Regions from separate parts of the Homo sapiens genome. Here regions 2, 3, 4 and 5 are each linked to region 1. The links are contacts of gene promoters, found by promoter capture Hi-C in blood cells and fetal thymus (Javierre and others, 2016). All regions are on one chromosome and are shown on one strand. Each heading gives the region's core, a stretch centred on a gene start or on the middle of the fragment in contact. The rest is flanking DNA. Distances are from core to core; before and after follow the strand shown. Region 1 holds the start of ATR (ATR checkpoint kinase). Region 2 overlaps U2SURP (U2 snRNP associated SURP domain containing). Region 3 overlaps PAQR9-AS1 (PAQR9 antisense RNA 1). Region 4 holds the start of PCOLCE2 (procollagen C-endopeptidase enhancer 2). Region 5 overlaps PCOLCE2 (procollagen C-endopeptidase enhancer 2).

What was found. Contacts are between HindIII fragments. The CHiCAGO score rates a contact against its expected background, and 5 or more counts as called.
Region 2: a contact is called between a fragment that was not itself captured here and the fragment with the promoter of ATR in region 1, in 2 of 17 cell types (naive CD8 T cells and erythroblasts). The highest score is 6.1, in naive CD8 T cells.
Region 3: a contact is called between a fragment that was not itself captured here and the fragment with the promoter of ATR in region 1, in 7 of 17 cell types (naive CD4 T cells, endothelial precursors, total CD8 T cells and 4 more). The highest score is 6.8, in naive CD4 T cells.
Region 4: the fragment with the promoter of PCOLCE2 here is called in contact with the fragment with the promoter of ATR in region 1 in 1 of 17 cell types (M2 macrophages); the score reaches 5.3 in M2 macrophages.
Region 5: a fragment that was not itself captured here is called in contact with the fragment with the promoter of ATR in region 1 in 1 of 17 cell types (M2 macrophages); the score reaches 6.1 in M2 macrophages.

What each region holds. Positions count from the first base shown.
Region 1 is chr3:142,577,380-142,580,214 of GRCh38, reverse strand. ATR (ATR checkpoint kinase) reads left to right here and starts at 1,482. Exons shown (of 47, transcript NM_001184.4): 1 at 1,482-1,569. The coding sequence starts at 1,511. RefSeq lists enhancers at 1,132-1,231, 1,532-1,691. The HindIII fragment of the contact is 1,226 bases long and covers 1,225-2,450 here.
Region 2 is chr3:143,028,635-143,031,469 of GRCh38, reverse strand. It overlaps U2SURP (U2 snRNP associated SURP domain containing), which reads right to left. Exons shown (of 28, transcript NM_001080415.2): 16 at 2,824-2,835. Among named protein-coding and RNA genes, the nearest start is that of U2SURP, 28 kb to the right of the region's middle. The HindIII fragment of the contact is 547 bases long and covers 1,227-1,773 here.
Region 3 is chr3:142,980,280-142,983,114 of GRCh38, reverse strand. All of the region lies in intron 2 of PAQR9-AS1 (PAQR9 antisense RNA 1), which reads right to left. Among named protein-coding and RNA genes, the nearest start is that of PAQR9-AS1, 18 kb to the right of the region's middle. The HindIII fragment of the contact is 4,375 bases long and covers 1-2,835 here.
Region 4 is chr3:142,887,743-142,890,577 of GRCh38, reverse strand. It overlaps PCOLCE2 (procollagen C-endopeptidase enhancer 2), which reads left to right and starts at 1,495. Exons shown (of 9, transcript NM_013363.4): 1 at 1,495-1,764; 2 at 2,801-2,835. The coding sequence starts at 1,682. It overlaps LOC124909443 (a long non-coding RNA gene), which reads right to left and starts at 2,314. Exons shown (of 2, transcript XR_007096122.1): 1 at 2,119-2,314; 2 at 1-987. RefSeq lists a silencer at 1,503-1,552. The HindIII fragment of the contact is 10,419 bases long and covers 1-2,835 here.
Region 5 is chr3:142,850,016-142,852,850 of GRCh38, reverse strand. All of the region lies in intron 2 of PCOLCE2 (procollagen C-endopeptidase enhancer 2), which reads left to right. Among named protein-coding and RNA genes, the nearest start is that of PCOLCE2, 38 kb to the left of the region's middle. The HindIII fragment of the contact is 1,309 bases long and covers 781-2,089 here.

The DNA.
Region 1 (2,835 bases), core at 233-2,732:
TTAGGTCCTGGGTATCTGAGAGTGAACAAAATAGACAAGACCTTGCTCTCCAAGAGCTTACACTCTAACTGGAGAGAGACAATAATATAGTATGTCCGGGTGTGGTGGCTCTCACCTCTAATTCTAGTACTTTGGAAGGCTGAGGTGGGAGGAGCGTGTGAGGCCAAGAGTTTGAGACCAGCCTGGGCAACATAGCAAGACCTTGTCTCTACAAAAAATAATTAGCCAGGCGTGGTGGCATGTCTGTAGTCCCAGCTACTCAGGAGGCTGAGGCAGGAGGATCAATTGAGCCCAGGCTGAGGTGAGAGGATCGCTTGAGCCTGGGAGATTGAGGCTGCAGTGAGCTATGATTGCAACATTCATTGCACTAGAACCTGAACAACAGAGTAAGACAATGTATCTAACAAAAAAAAGAGGGTGAGACAGAATGTGTATATATGTTAGTCTATATGAGGCTCTTTGGTGTTAATTTGGCAAACACCTGAAGGAAAAAGGGCAATGACAGAGTGGTGTTCAAGGCAGAGAGTACAGCAAATGCAAAGTTCTTGAGGCAAGAGCATATTTGGCTGTCATTCCATCACTTTTTTCTTTAAGATACTGTATCGGTTAACTATCCTCATGTACCAAAGAACAAATGTAAACATACTGCATGACTTTGAGTGATTAACTACATAACTTTGACATGTCAACAATCTCTTATGGTGGTCATCTTTCCAATAAATTGAGTTGAGCTAGAAAATGTGTATTGCCAAAATCCATTGATTTACTTTAAAAATTAAATCACAGGTTGCGGATGCCCGTAATGGTGGCATTTCCACACACAGTACTGTTGCTGATTTGATGAGACACAAATATATTCCAACCCCATTTTCAAATATTAAAAGTTGGTAGGGTCCTCAACGAAACCTAACAGTGACTTCAAGTTGAAAAAAAATGCTTAAAAGGAAAAAAACAGGGAGAGCCCACCTTTTGGCCTGTATCTCTCAGAAAGAGGGACAAGAGCGGTGGGAACGTGAGGAACTTTTAAAATGTGAGAGCGTTACTCTGGGGAAACCTGGAGTTTACTCTTGGCCTTTACTCGCTGGACTGTCATAGTTCTCACATTTGTGAAGCGAGTCTGGGCTGGCGGCCCTCAAGCCCTATCCTCCCCCGATGCGGAAGTCTTGCTTCTCTGTGCCTCCCAGGCTTGAGAACAGCAGAGTCTGGCCGCTCAAAACGAAAGCTTCACGAACGTCGCTCGCTCGGTGCTGAGAAAGAAGCCTGACGCGACCCGGGAAACTTGACCGACGCACGCCCGCCCGCTTGCCCCGCCCCCTAACGGCTTCCCGGCTTCCCCCGGGTCCTATGCAGAAAAGACGCTGGGCCTGGCAAGCGGGGCCAGTAGCGGCTTCCGGGAGGAGTTTTGGCCTCCACACGGCTCCGTCGGGCGCCGCGCTCTTCCGGCAGCGGTAGCTTTGGAGACGCCGGGAACCCGCGTTGGCGTGGTTGACTAGTGCCTCGCAGCCTCAGCATGGGGGAACATGGCCTGGAGCTGGCTTCCATGATCCCCGCCCTGCGGGAGCTGGGCAGGTAGGGCTAGGCCCAGCCTGGGTCCTGCATCCTCCTCCGCTGATTCCGGCTTGGGTTTCACGTGCTCTCCCCTCCCCTGCTGCGCTATGGCTGGGATCCCCTAAGCCCCCGCTGCGGCCCTTGTGGAGATGCTCCGTGGCTGATTTGGGCGCTTCTCCCTCAGAGTGCCCGTTGATAGCACATGGGGCAGTCGCCACAAACCTGCGGGAAGCCGGTCCGTGGGGGAGAGAGGCGTCTGCCGGCCCTGGTTTACCACTCACCCCGATCGAGAGTTTGCTTCCTGCAGCTGGAGGAAGAGTCCCTGCTGATCGCTTTCTGGTCACTTTTCTACACTCATTTTCTTCTCGAAAATCTTTTTCCTTAGACGAGGGACTTGACCCATCAGTTTCTGTTCTTTGTGATCACTCGTGGAGGAATTGGTTTTTAGCCTTACATTTTGTCCCCAAACTGCCCTTGAAAGAAAATCACCGCTTCTCATTTTCTGCAAGTGACATCACTTGCTGGAAAAGGCAGTTTTTTTCTTTGAAGTGAAGTCATAGTACATACTGAAGATGTGACCTCCCTCGTATTGATCGTCCAGTTCCCGATCCGTTATTTTAGTCAGAAATTGGAGAGATAGACCCCTGGGTCCACAAAATCTCAGCGTGCACAGAGTGTTGCCAAAATTTGGAGACAATTTAATATTTCATTTGCAAATGCATGTTGTCTGTAAACCTCATGAAAACCAGTATCTTACCACAAGGAGGGAGAGGTGTTGATGGCTCTCACACCTCTTCAATACACAGGCAGGCTTCCCTGAACCAGGCCTAAAGACTCGGTAGAGCTTGTTTTGCTTTGTTTGTTTTAATTCTACACTACTGCGAACAAGAAATAAATAAGCTTGTGCTGCTACCGCAGTTAAATTATCATTTGGAATAACTGCTTCCCAATTTCTTAAACTGTTTGAAAACTTTCCACACAAAGTCAAAGCTGACATTAAGCCAATGGGATAGCTACTTCTCTTTCTTTTTGCAGCGCAGTTGTGTTCATTTCCACTGGTTGGCCATCCAAATAATCTAGTCTCAATATATGAATAAAAGGATAAATGAAGGGACCATTCTTGTCGTAACTGCATCACTATTTTTGAGTGTGTGAATTTTTTCCACTTATCTGTGGCAAGTATACTTTGTGTTTAGTTTATAAAATAACCTCTACCTCTCTAAAAGAAGAGGAAGAAAAGTGATCATTGTAGGAAGTTGGTTTACAAATTTCATCTTTCAGGCTCAT
Region 2 (2,835 bases), core at 251-2,750, 450 kb before region 1:
GGTGGTGGTAGCTGAAGGTTAGGGTGGTGGTAGCTGAAGGTTAGGGCGGTGGTAGCTGAAGGTTGGGGTGGCTGCAGCAATTTCTTAAACAATAAAGTTTACCGCATCAACTGACATTTCTCATCACAGGGGATTTCTCTGCAGCATGAGTTGTTGTTTGTTAACATTTTACCCAGAGGAGAATGTCTTGCCAAACTGTAGTCAATCCTCTCAAACCCTGTACTACTTTATCAACTAACTTTATATATATTCTAGATCCTTTCATTTCAACAATGTTCACAGCTTCTTCATCAGAAATACATTCCATCTCAAGAAACCACTTAATTTGCTCATCCCTAAGAAGCAACTCCTCATTTATTAAAGTTTTATCATGAGATCACAGCAATTCAGTCCCATCTTTGAGCTCTACTTCTAATTCTAGTTCCCTTGCTATTTCTACCATATCTGGAGTTACTTCCTCTACTGAAGTCTTAAATCCCTCAAAGTCATCTATGAGGGACTAACTTCTTCCAAGCTCCTGTTAATGTCGATTTTTATAGGCAAAAAAACTGAAACGGATTTTTAAGATTTTTTTAAATTTCTTTTTAATAGAAATGGGGTCTCACTATATTGCTCAGGCTGGTCTTGAACTCTTGGCCTCATGCTATCCTCCTGCCTCGGCCTCCCATAGTGCTGGGATTACAGGTGTGAGCCACCACACCTGGCCCACAAATGTTCTTAATGGCATTTGGAATGATAAATGCTTTCCACAAGGTTTCTGACTTTTTCCCAGACCCACTGGAGGAATCACTATCTATGGCAGCCACAGCCTTATGAAATATATTTCTTAAATAATAAGACTAAAAGGTCAAAATTACTCCTTGATCAATGGGATAGAGAATGGATAATGTGTTAACAGGCATGAAAACAACTTAATCTCTTTGCACATCTCCATCAGAGATCTTCAGTGATCAGGTACATTGTCAATGAGCAGTAATATTTTGAAAAAAATCATTTTATTGAGCAGGTCTCAACAGTGGGCTTAAAATATTCAGTAAACCATGCTGTAAACAGATATGCTGTCATCCAGGCTTTGTTGTTCCATTTATAGAGCACAGGCAGAGTTGATTTAGCATAAATTCTTAATGGTCCTAAAATTTTTGGAATGGTAAATGAGCACTGGCTTCAACTTTAAGTCACCAGCTGCATTAGCCCCTAATAAGAGAGTCAGCCTGTCCTTTGAAGCTTTTAACCCAGGCAGTGACTTCCCCTCTCTAGTTATAAAAGTGCTAAATTACATTTTCTTACAATAAAAGGCTGCTTTGTCTACACTGACAATGTGATTTAGTGTAGCCACCTTCATCAATGACCTCAGATCTTCTGGATAATTTGCTACAGCATCTACATCAGCACTTGCTGCTTCACCTTGAACTTTTATATTATGAAGATGGCTTCTTTCCTTAAACCTCAAAAACCAATCACTGCTAGCTTCAAATTTTTCTTCTGGAGCATCCTCACCTGTTTCCACAGAATTGAAGAGAGTGGGCCTTGCTCAGGATTAGGCTTTGGCATAAGGGAGTGCTATGGCTGGTCTGATCTTCTATCCACACCACCGAAACTTTCTATCAGTAATAAGGCTATTTTGCTTCCTCATCATTCATGTGTTCATTGGAGTGGCACTTTTAATTTCCTTTAAAAACTCTTCCTTTGCATTGATAACTTGGCTCACTGTTTGGTGCAAGAGGCCTAGCTTTCAGCCAACCTCATCTTTTGACATGCCTTCCTAACTAAGCTTAATCATTCTAGCTTTTGATTTAACGTGAGAGAAGTGAGACTCTTCCTTTCACCTGAATACTCAAGAGGCCATTGTGGGATTATTAACTGGCCTAATTTCAATAGTGTTGTGTCTCAGGAAATAGGGAGGCCTAAGGGAAAACAGCTAGTCACTGAACAGTCAGAACACACCTTTTTTGATTAAGTTCATCTTCTTATATGACCATAGTTTGTGGTGCCCCAAAACAATCAAAGATCACTGATCACCATAACAGATACAATAATAATGAAAAAGTTTGAGCTATTGTGAGAATTATGAAAATGTGACAGACATGAAGTAAGCACATGCTGTTCGAAAAATAATGACAACAGATTTGTTTGACTTAGGGTTGCCACAAACCTTCAATTTATAAAACACACTGTATCTGCAGAGCACAGTAAGTCAAAGCGCAATAAAACTAAGTATGTCTGTACTTAATTCTATATTCTAAAAATGCTTTTAGCCAATGTTTTCCCATGAGGTATACAGGATGTCCTCTGAACATTTAATAAGTATGTTTTTGCTTCTTAAACCAGCTAGCTGCACTGTACAATTGTTAAGTGAGACTAATAACAACACATACTTCCATGGTGGCCATCTCACAGCTCACCACACACTGCAAATCAAGTGTGAAAGTTATCATGTAGCGGCTTTGCATAGCCACAATCTGATCCCACTAGCCACACAATAGTTTTTCTTCTTTATGTTGCATTCAGAGAAGCAAGAATTCTAGGGATCCTCCAATAATTTCTGTAAGAATCTGAAGTACTCCAATGCTAAAGAAATAAGTCAATCATGTTTAAGAGATCATCACTAATTTTACCAGGAGAAAACTCAAGGACAACAGGACACACACCTATACTTGTTAGGATGTTTAAAATTATAAAGCACATGATGAAAGATGTTACTATTTTAAACATTCACAAGTGAAAAAAATTTATTTTAGGGTTAACATCTTAATAAGACCATTAATTAAAGCAACCATTACAGTTACTTTTCTGAATATATAATAGAAAGGAAAAATATCTTACTCTTCCTTAAGT
Region 3 (2,835 bases), core at 223-2,722, 400 kb before region 1:
GCAAGACATAAGGTTGTTTTCAACTGTTTTATTACAAGCAATGCTACATATGCTTATATGTGCTTCCTTGTGCATGTATTTCTCTTGAATAAAGAAAATGAAGAGAGCAAAGGAAGCAGCTGGTGGAAAGGCTCTCAGGTGGAACAGAGCTGAGAGAGAGAAGCGTGAGGGAGCCTTTGTGGCTGGAGCCAGAGAGTAGTGATGGGGAGGTCAGAGTCTTCAGGGCAGATGTGGGGGCAGGGGTTGGAATAGGGCATGGAGGCCATGGTAAGGTTTTGCAGTTTATTCTAAGGTCAAAATTATCTGATTTACATTTTAGAAGACCACTGGCTGCTGCACGGAAGATGGTTTAAAGTGAAGGGGCGAAGGCAGGAGACCAGGCAATCTGAGAACAGGCATCAGCGGCCTGGCTGAGGTGAAATGAATAAATCCTTAGCAGGTTGCACCAAATGGGAAGTAAATGTAACAGGAAGTGTCCTGCTCCCAACAGAGACCACTGAGAGGAGTCTGCAGAGTGCAATGATGGACACAAGAATCAACAAGACAGACACAGCCTCTGCCCTCTTACTCTCTAAGAAGGGATACAGAGATTAAGCAAATAATTGCAGGTATAAACAACAGTCCACCTACAGTGTGACAGGGAAGAGAATAGAGGCTTTGAAGTCAGATTGCTCTGAATTTCTAACTCTGCTCCCCGACTTGCAAGCTGTGTTCCTTTGGTCAGGACAGTCTCTCTCTCTCTCTCTCTCCCTCTCTCTCTCTCTGTGTGTGTGTGTGTGTGTGTCTCCCTCTCTCTTTTTCTCCCTTCCCCCCAACCCAGCCCTCCCTCCTCTCCTCTCCCTCTCATCCGATTTCTTCATCTGTAAGGGTTAGCGAGAGGATTAAATGAGATCATTTTTGAAAAGCACCTAGCACTGGTAAAAAGGAGATAATTATATTGGGTGAATGAATGGAAAAAACCTTCCCCTTTATTTACCGTCTGTCTTCATGTACCCCTGTCGGCCATTCCAGGCAATCATTTTGATTCTAAATTCCTACTACCTCCTCCAACTACAGAATGTGGTTATCAGTGGAGTCAACGGGTTCATTAGCTCTTTGCATGTGGTTTTGCCAGAATCATCAGTTGCCAACTAATGCAAATTAATTGTTTACACTCCTTTGGGTTTATTCTTTTCCCACTGTTATTCTTTTTAAAAATAAAGTTATTTCTTTTCCGTTTTCCCCCCTTTTATTATCAGGAAATTTGAAATAGACTAGGAACAGTAGATGGAAGAATTAATTTATTTGATTAATGGATACCAAATTATTATGGTTAAGTTTTTTGTTTCAGACCACAGCTCCATGGGGACATTAATAAATGTGATTGCTTTTGCTAGAATATTCGTTAATCCTGTGGTTTAGTGTGCTGATAATGGGACATGCTGCTCCACTGACTTTTAATGAGCTTATTCCACTGGCTAGCAGAAAAGCAACAAAAATAATTTTACAAACATATACATGTTTAGAGGACTAAGGGAGTTTTAAAATCTCCTTATGCTCTCAGTATATTCCACCAAGGTGTACGTAAACATAACTTCTTTTTCCTTTTCTCACAGGCTTTTTTCGATAGATCTTTTTTAAATTTAAAATAAAAATCTGAGGAATAGTTGCTATGGACTGAATGATGTCCCCCACAAAATTCCTATGATGAAGCTCTAATCCCCATGTGGCTGTATTTGAAAATAGAGCTTGAGAGGAAGTGATAAAGGTTAAATGAGGTCATATGAGTAGGGCTCTGATGCAGTAGAGCTGGTGCCCTTATAAGATGAGGAAGAGATCCCAGAGCTCCCTCTCTCTGCCATGTGAAAAGGCAGCTGTCTGCAAGCCAGGGAGAGAAGGCTCCTTGGAAACCAACCCTACCAGACCTTGACCTGGGACTTCTGCGCCCTAGAACTGTGAGAAAATAAATACCAGTTGTTTAAGCCACGCAGTCTATGGTACTTTGTTATGGCAGCCCTAGCCGACAAGTCCTAAAACAATATGATTTAGTCTGAGCTATTGGGATATTAAAAGACTTCATCTGGCTTGAATGCCTTAATTAAGATAACTTGTTTTTAGTAGTTATGGGACCCTGCCTTCTTTGTGAGTATATAATTCAAAACTGACAAAGTAGTATGATGACAAAAGACAGAGTGCCTGTTGATTCAGGTTTTATCCACAATTGTAAGTGAAACAATGTCATTTACAAAATCATCAGGGCTTTCCACTGTAGGACAATAGGTTTCCTACATGTCAAATCAAATGTTAACTCTCATGTTTAACTCTGATATCTTCCTCTTCCCTCATACAAATCTACATAAATCAATGCATGCATATGTAGGGCTGTTTTTTTCCCTGTTTCTTATTTAACAACATGAAATTAAAGCCTTCTGGCTCGAGAGAGTGAACCAAACATACACATTTGCCCCCTGCTGTTCCAGACACCATCACTGTGTAGATATTTCTGATATCTTTAAAAGTGGTAGGGGTGGATAAATTTAAAACATCAAAGAGAACAGAAGAGAAAGCAACCAATGGACAGTACATTTCTGGAAGACAGATAAAACAAAGCAGAAAAAGCCAAAGCCCAGGATACACCCAGGAGGAGGATGCAGAGAAGGTTGAAAGAGAACCCTTGCAACAGTGTTTTACAAGGACATCACATCTAAATGGCTTAGCATGGTGTAATTGCTCAATAAATGTTAACTGTTATGTCATTATTCTGGAACTGGTTTTTGTCACTCAAGGTCAACACATATATGCGTAATTTATTCTTTAGTAGAGTTGTATAATATTCCATAACTTGTTCATCCATTT
Region 4 (2,835 bases), core at 246-2,745, 310 kb before region 1:
CGTATATTCTGGTTCCTAGTATAGGCTTCAGGGTGCACTCACTATGAAAAGTCAGAATATTTCCTGTAGCCAGTTTTACTTACTTCCTTGCCAGGAGTGTTTAGGTTCTTTTTTTTTTTTTTTTCTTTTTTGAGATGGAGTCTCACTCTGTCGCCCGGGGCTGGAGTGCAATGGCGTGATCTCGGCTCACTGCAACCTCCGCCTCCCGGGTTCACGCGATACTTCTGCCTCAGCTTCCCGAGTACCCGGGATTACAGACGCACACCGCAACACCTGGCTAATTTTTTGTATTTTTAGTCGAGGCGGGGTTTCACCATCTTGGCCAGACTGGTTTCGAACTCCTGACCTCGTGATCCGCCCGCCTCGGCCTCCAAAAGTGCTGGGATTACAGGCGTGGGCCATCGCGCCCACCCGTGTTTAGATTCTTAACAGCTCATTATTAGAAATAAAGTCTCGATAAGAACTACTTTAATACTTAATTTTCTTGCTTAGAAAGGTGAAAACAATTTAGAAGGAACAACGTGAGGCATCAAAGTTAAGCTGTATCTCCCATAGCTGGTGATTATTAAAAATCTCTATGAATCTAGTCTGTTCCTGTCATTCTTTTATTAATCCCTGGTTATTGGGAAGCTCTTAACAAAATAAATGTTTAAAATTATATTTCTGTAATTAAGTAAAAGAGAGTATTGATTCCACAAGGCTAGAATTGTTCGTCTAAGAAAAACGAATTCTCCGTAAATTTTAACCCGTTAATACCACAGAAAGATGCTGTTGGAAAGGTCTAAGAACAGAGAGATGCAAGCAGAGAAACACCATTTTCAGAACATGACATGGGATGGTGAGATTTGCTGATTTGGTTCCGTCTTCATTATCTGACATTTAATGACAGTTCACACAGAAATCGCTCGCCTGAAAACCCGTGTTTAAATCCCGGCACAGAGACTGTCTTCCTTGTCATTGTCATACCAGTAAAAAAAAGAAAAGTATCTAGAGAGAGAGAGAGGAGAATAAGCACAGAAGTTAAAATACAATAAAATCCCTTTTCCCTTTCTTTCCTTGGATCTGGGTTTTGAAGGAGACAAAGAAGGACCCCCAGGCTTTCCAGCAGCCAGCAAGCGCTATTACTTTTTATTTAAAAGCAACTGGGAAAAACATTCCCCAAAGCAAAACCAGAAGCCCTCCCTGAGAATCGTCTCTGGGCGTCGGGGCCCGGGCCGCTGGGGTGCCACTCCGCAAGGGGTTCCTCTTCTCCCCGGGGTCCCTGAGGGCTGGACGAGAGAGGACCCGTCGGTCCCGGGGTGCCGGGAGGAGACGTTCGCCCGCCCCACGAGAGGGGGCGGCTCTGGCCTCGGAGCCGCCCCTCCTGCCGCCGGAGAACAAACGGGATATTCAGCAGTGGCCTGTGGCTGCCAGAGCAGCTCCTCAGGGGAAACTAAGCGTCGAGTCAGACGGCACCATAATCGCCTTTAAAAGTGCCTCCGCCCTGCCGGCCGCGTATCCCCCGGCTACCTGGGCCGCCCCGCGGCGGTGCGCGCGTGAGAGGGAGCGCGCGGGCAGCCGAGCGCCGGTGTGAGCCAGCGCTGCTGCCAGTGTGAGCGGCGGTGTGAGCGCGGTGGGTGCGGAGGGGCGTGTGTGCCGGCGCGCGCGCCGTGGGGTGCAAACCCCGAGCGTCTACGCTGCCATGAGGGGCGCGAACGCCTGGGCGCCACTCTGCCTGCTGCTGGCTGCCGCCACCCAGCTCTCGCGGCAGCAGTCCCCAGAGAGGTAACGCGACCCCTGCCCGGGCTCCCTTTCTCTCCTTTCCCTTCCTCCACCCCTGCAGCCTCGCCTGCTGCTTTACTCAACCCGCTTCGGCGCGCCTGGGTGACCCAGCGCTCGACCCTGCGCTCCCGCGCGGTGCAGGCGTCCGCCACCCTCGGGTAGGCTAAGCCCGGGACTTCGGGACCCATCCTTGCTCGCGGGGCTCCCTCCTGGGTCCCCAGCCCGGCCTGCCGGATGGCCCTGCAGCTGGCTTGGCCACCACGTGGCGGGGCTTAATCTGACTTGTGTCTCCCCTCTCCTCGTGTCTATGGGGCCAGAGGGAAGCACTGGGGCCCAAATATGTGGATTTTGGTTTACCGCTGTTTTTTTTCCTTCCCCGAGAGGCTTTGCCCAGAGACGTAAACTAGGGAACAACCCTAGCGGCGCGGCGCCTAGGGAGCCGCTCCGGAAAGTTAACTCTTCGCCAACCTCTGGAAGGCCCCAGGAGCTGGGCTGTGGGACCTGCCCGGTGGCCAACTTTGGCATCACCTCTTCAGCCTCCATCAACATCAGCCTCCCTTTCGATGGGAAGCTCTGCCAATGGCGAGTGATTTTCAGAAAGGGGGAGGAGAACTGGGCATCTCTCCAAATATGGGAACGACAAACTTTTTTTATATTAACCAATTGCTTGCCTGTCTTTCTTTAAAACCATGCTTCTCATTCAGCCTGGCTCTTACCTTCTCTCCCACTCCCCCAGTTAAATTGATGTATTTACCATTTTCCTACAAGACTTTGCCACAATGCCGAGGACTTGATTATACATATATATAATCTTGTGTTATTATGATGGAGACAGATGGCGCTGGACTGAATGCTTTGTCAGGCTATAATTTAAATATTCTAGGAGCTAGCAAATTTTCAGATCCCTTATATGGTGCAAGCATTGATTAATCAACATTAACTTTTATTTATATTAATAGGCTACACCTTTCTGAAGGTAACATCAGATTGTTAGACCATGTTTCAAATTACATTATCTTTTCTTCTTTTATGTTCCCAGACCTGTTTTCACATGTGGTGGCATTCTTACTGGAG
Region 5 (2,835 bases), core at 186-2,685, 270 kb before region 1:
TTACAAGCATGAGCCTGGCACCATTTTTGTTAATTTTTAAAACAACACAAAAAGTCACTGTGCATTTTGCATGGTTACATATATATAATATATATTAAAATATATATTATATACACATATACATAAATACTTATGTGTGTATATGTATATACACACATACATAAATATATATAAATACACACACACACACACACACACACACATTTTGATCAGCATGGAAGGAAACCCACTAAATTTGTAACAGTGGTTGCTTCTGAGGAAGGAGGAGGAAATGGGGCCTGGGATGAAGACAAAGGAAATCTCATTTTTATCTGAAATGTTTTATTTACTTCATTAAAGGAGACTTTAAAAATCTATTAACAAAATGTTAACAAAAGTCAATTTCGTGGTTGGTATCCAGGTGTTATATTATTCTGTGTATCTTTCTGTATTTTTTATTTTTTTATTTTTTTTCTATTCTTAACAAAGAAAATTCAAGGATACAGACTAGATTCTCCAAGTGGAAAGGCCATCTTCGGAGAATATGCTCTCTAAAGTCCTTTATAATGACAATCAGGAGCTCTTATCAAAGCTTGCATCAGAGGGCATCAGACAATCTTGATCACTCATATAAAAAATGAAGAACGGATGTTGTGTCATACTGAAAAGGCTCACAGCAGTATGCTTCTCATTTGCAATAGAATTTCTCTCTGGCCTTCAGTGCAAGATGACATTTGTCTCTGGTTATAGGAGACTTACACTGGTACAGATCACCTCTGCATCCTTCTTTCAAAAGAAGCTTTGTCGGGGTTGTTCGGGTCAGCATGTGTTCAAAATTGCAATGATGTAACCCAGTTTCTATTGCTGATCATATTTGTGTCTCATTCTCAAATTTTCATTGCCATGGGAACAGGTACAAAACTTTTGGGAACAAATGATTTATTTTATTGGGAATGAGCATCCAAGTCCTGTAGTTAATTTCAACACCTCTCTACAGGAGAGAGTCAACAGAATTGTCTACGTAGTGTCAGAGAACCAAGAACCTGCCAATGAAACATGATTATACCTCCCTATTCCTCTCCTTGATGAAATAATCTAAAAGCCTCCTGGACAGTCTTCCTCGCTTCTTGCAAATTTTAACTCCTGGTTCACTGTCACTGTCTTCAACACTCTTCCTTGTCCTAATCAACTGTAATTTCAATATCTATATGGGTGATCTTCTCAGGTCTTTAACCTCTTCTCCGCCAAATAACTTATCCTCCATAGTTCCTCAGCCTCCCACTTCCACTGTTATTTTGTCCTTACTCCACCACAGTCTTGGTTGTTACTGTCCTCACCCCACAGCGTCCTGATTTCCATCCTAACCCAGTTTGGATTCCACAGCACATCATCATGGTCACTCCCTTGCCTATGTCTTCAACTCTCTTGTCCTTCTCTCCTGCCATATCCTCCCTTGGCAAACCTCACCACTCTCCCCTACTGCTTATATCCAACTCTCCACCTGCCCTGTACCTTTGCCCACGGAGCTGAATGTGGCTGGGGAAGAAGACCACGAACAAACAAAAACAAATATCGCCACCATGCAGAGAGGTCTTAATTTTAATTCATTTACTTCAAGTGGACCCCAGCAGTCCTGGTACTCCTGCTGCATTTCATTAATCCATTTCCTCACTTTCTCTTCTGTTATCAGATTCCCAGTAGTGCCTCTCTCTTCCACATTTGCTGCTGATGACCTTGTTTTCTATTTTACTAAGAAAAGCAATCCAGAAAAAAAATTCTATATATGCTTTCACCACCTCATTTACTGACCTACCTACATCTGTCTTCCCTTCTGTCATTGGGCAAAACTGTCCCTGCTCCTACTAAGGCCAACTCCACCAGCTGTTCCTTCTGTAGATCAGATCCCCCTTTGCCTGCTCAAGGACATCTGTTAAGCAATCCTCCCTCTCTCTTGCTTCATCAGTTTTGCCCTCTCTACAGAATCCTTCCCATCAGCATGCAAACATGCCTTAGGAAACACCCATTGCAAAAACTCTGCTTAGACCCCATATCCCCTTCCTTACCCCCATATTATTCTGTTCATCTTCACAGCAAAACTCCTTGAAAAGCTTGTTTATATTTATTGTCACCATTTCCTCTCACCCCATTTTCTCATGATCCTTTTATCCAGTTTTCTCCCCATGGTGCCACCAGAACAGCTTTGTCAGCATTACCAGTGACTTCTGGTTGCTAAACTTCTGTGTTGCTAAATCCACTGGTCTTTCTCAGCAGCAGCACTTAACTCAGTTGCCCATTCATTCCTCCTTGACATACTCTCTTCGCCTGGCTTCCAGACGCCACACACTTTGGTTGCCTCCTACTTGTTGACTCAGTCTCTATTGTGGTTTGACCTCTTCACAGACTTGATGACATTGGAGTGTTCCAGGCCTCTATACTTAGACCTCTTCCTTTTTCTATCCACATTCACTCTGGGAGTGACTTCATCAAGTTTCGTAGCTTTGAATTACCCTCTATACATTTATACAAATAGTCACTATTCATGCAGGAAAAAAACAAATTAGTTTGAGATTCTTTTCATGGCTAGGACTTTTTCGGTGATTCATAGAGAGCCTGCTTATATTTAAGATTACAGATGTGGCATCATATTTTGATAACTTTCTGATTATTGTACAAATAGAGGTTGTGTGCAAAACAAAAAACAAAGCAAAAGACAGGAAGTTTTACAACAGACATCTTGGTGATAATGTTTAAAATTTAAATTGTTCTTTCTGTTATTAGCTTCTTAAGCTGTTCTAAGTTCTTTGGAACTCTGATATTCACACCACTGAGACAAGCTTCTAGGAATTAGAATGCAAC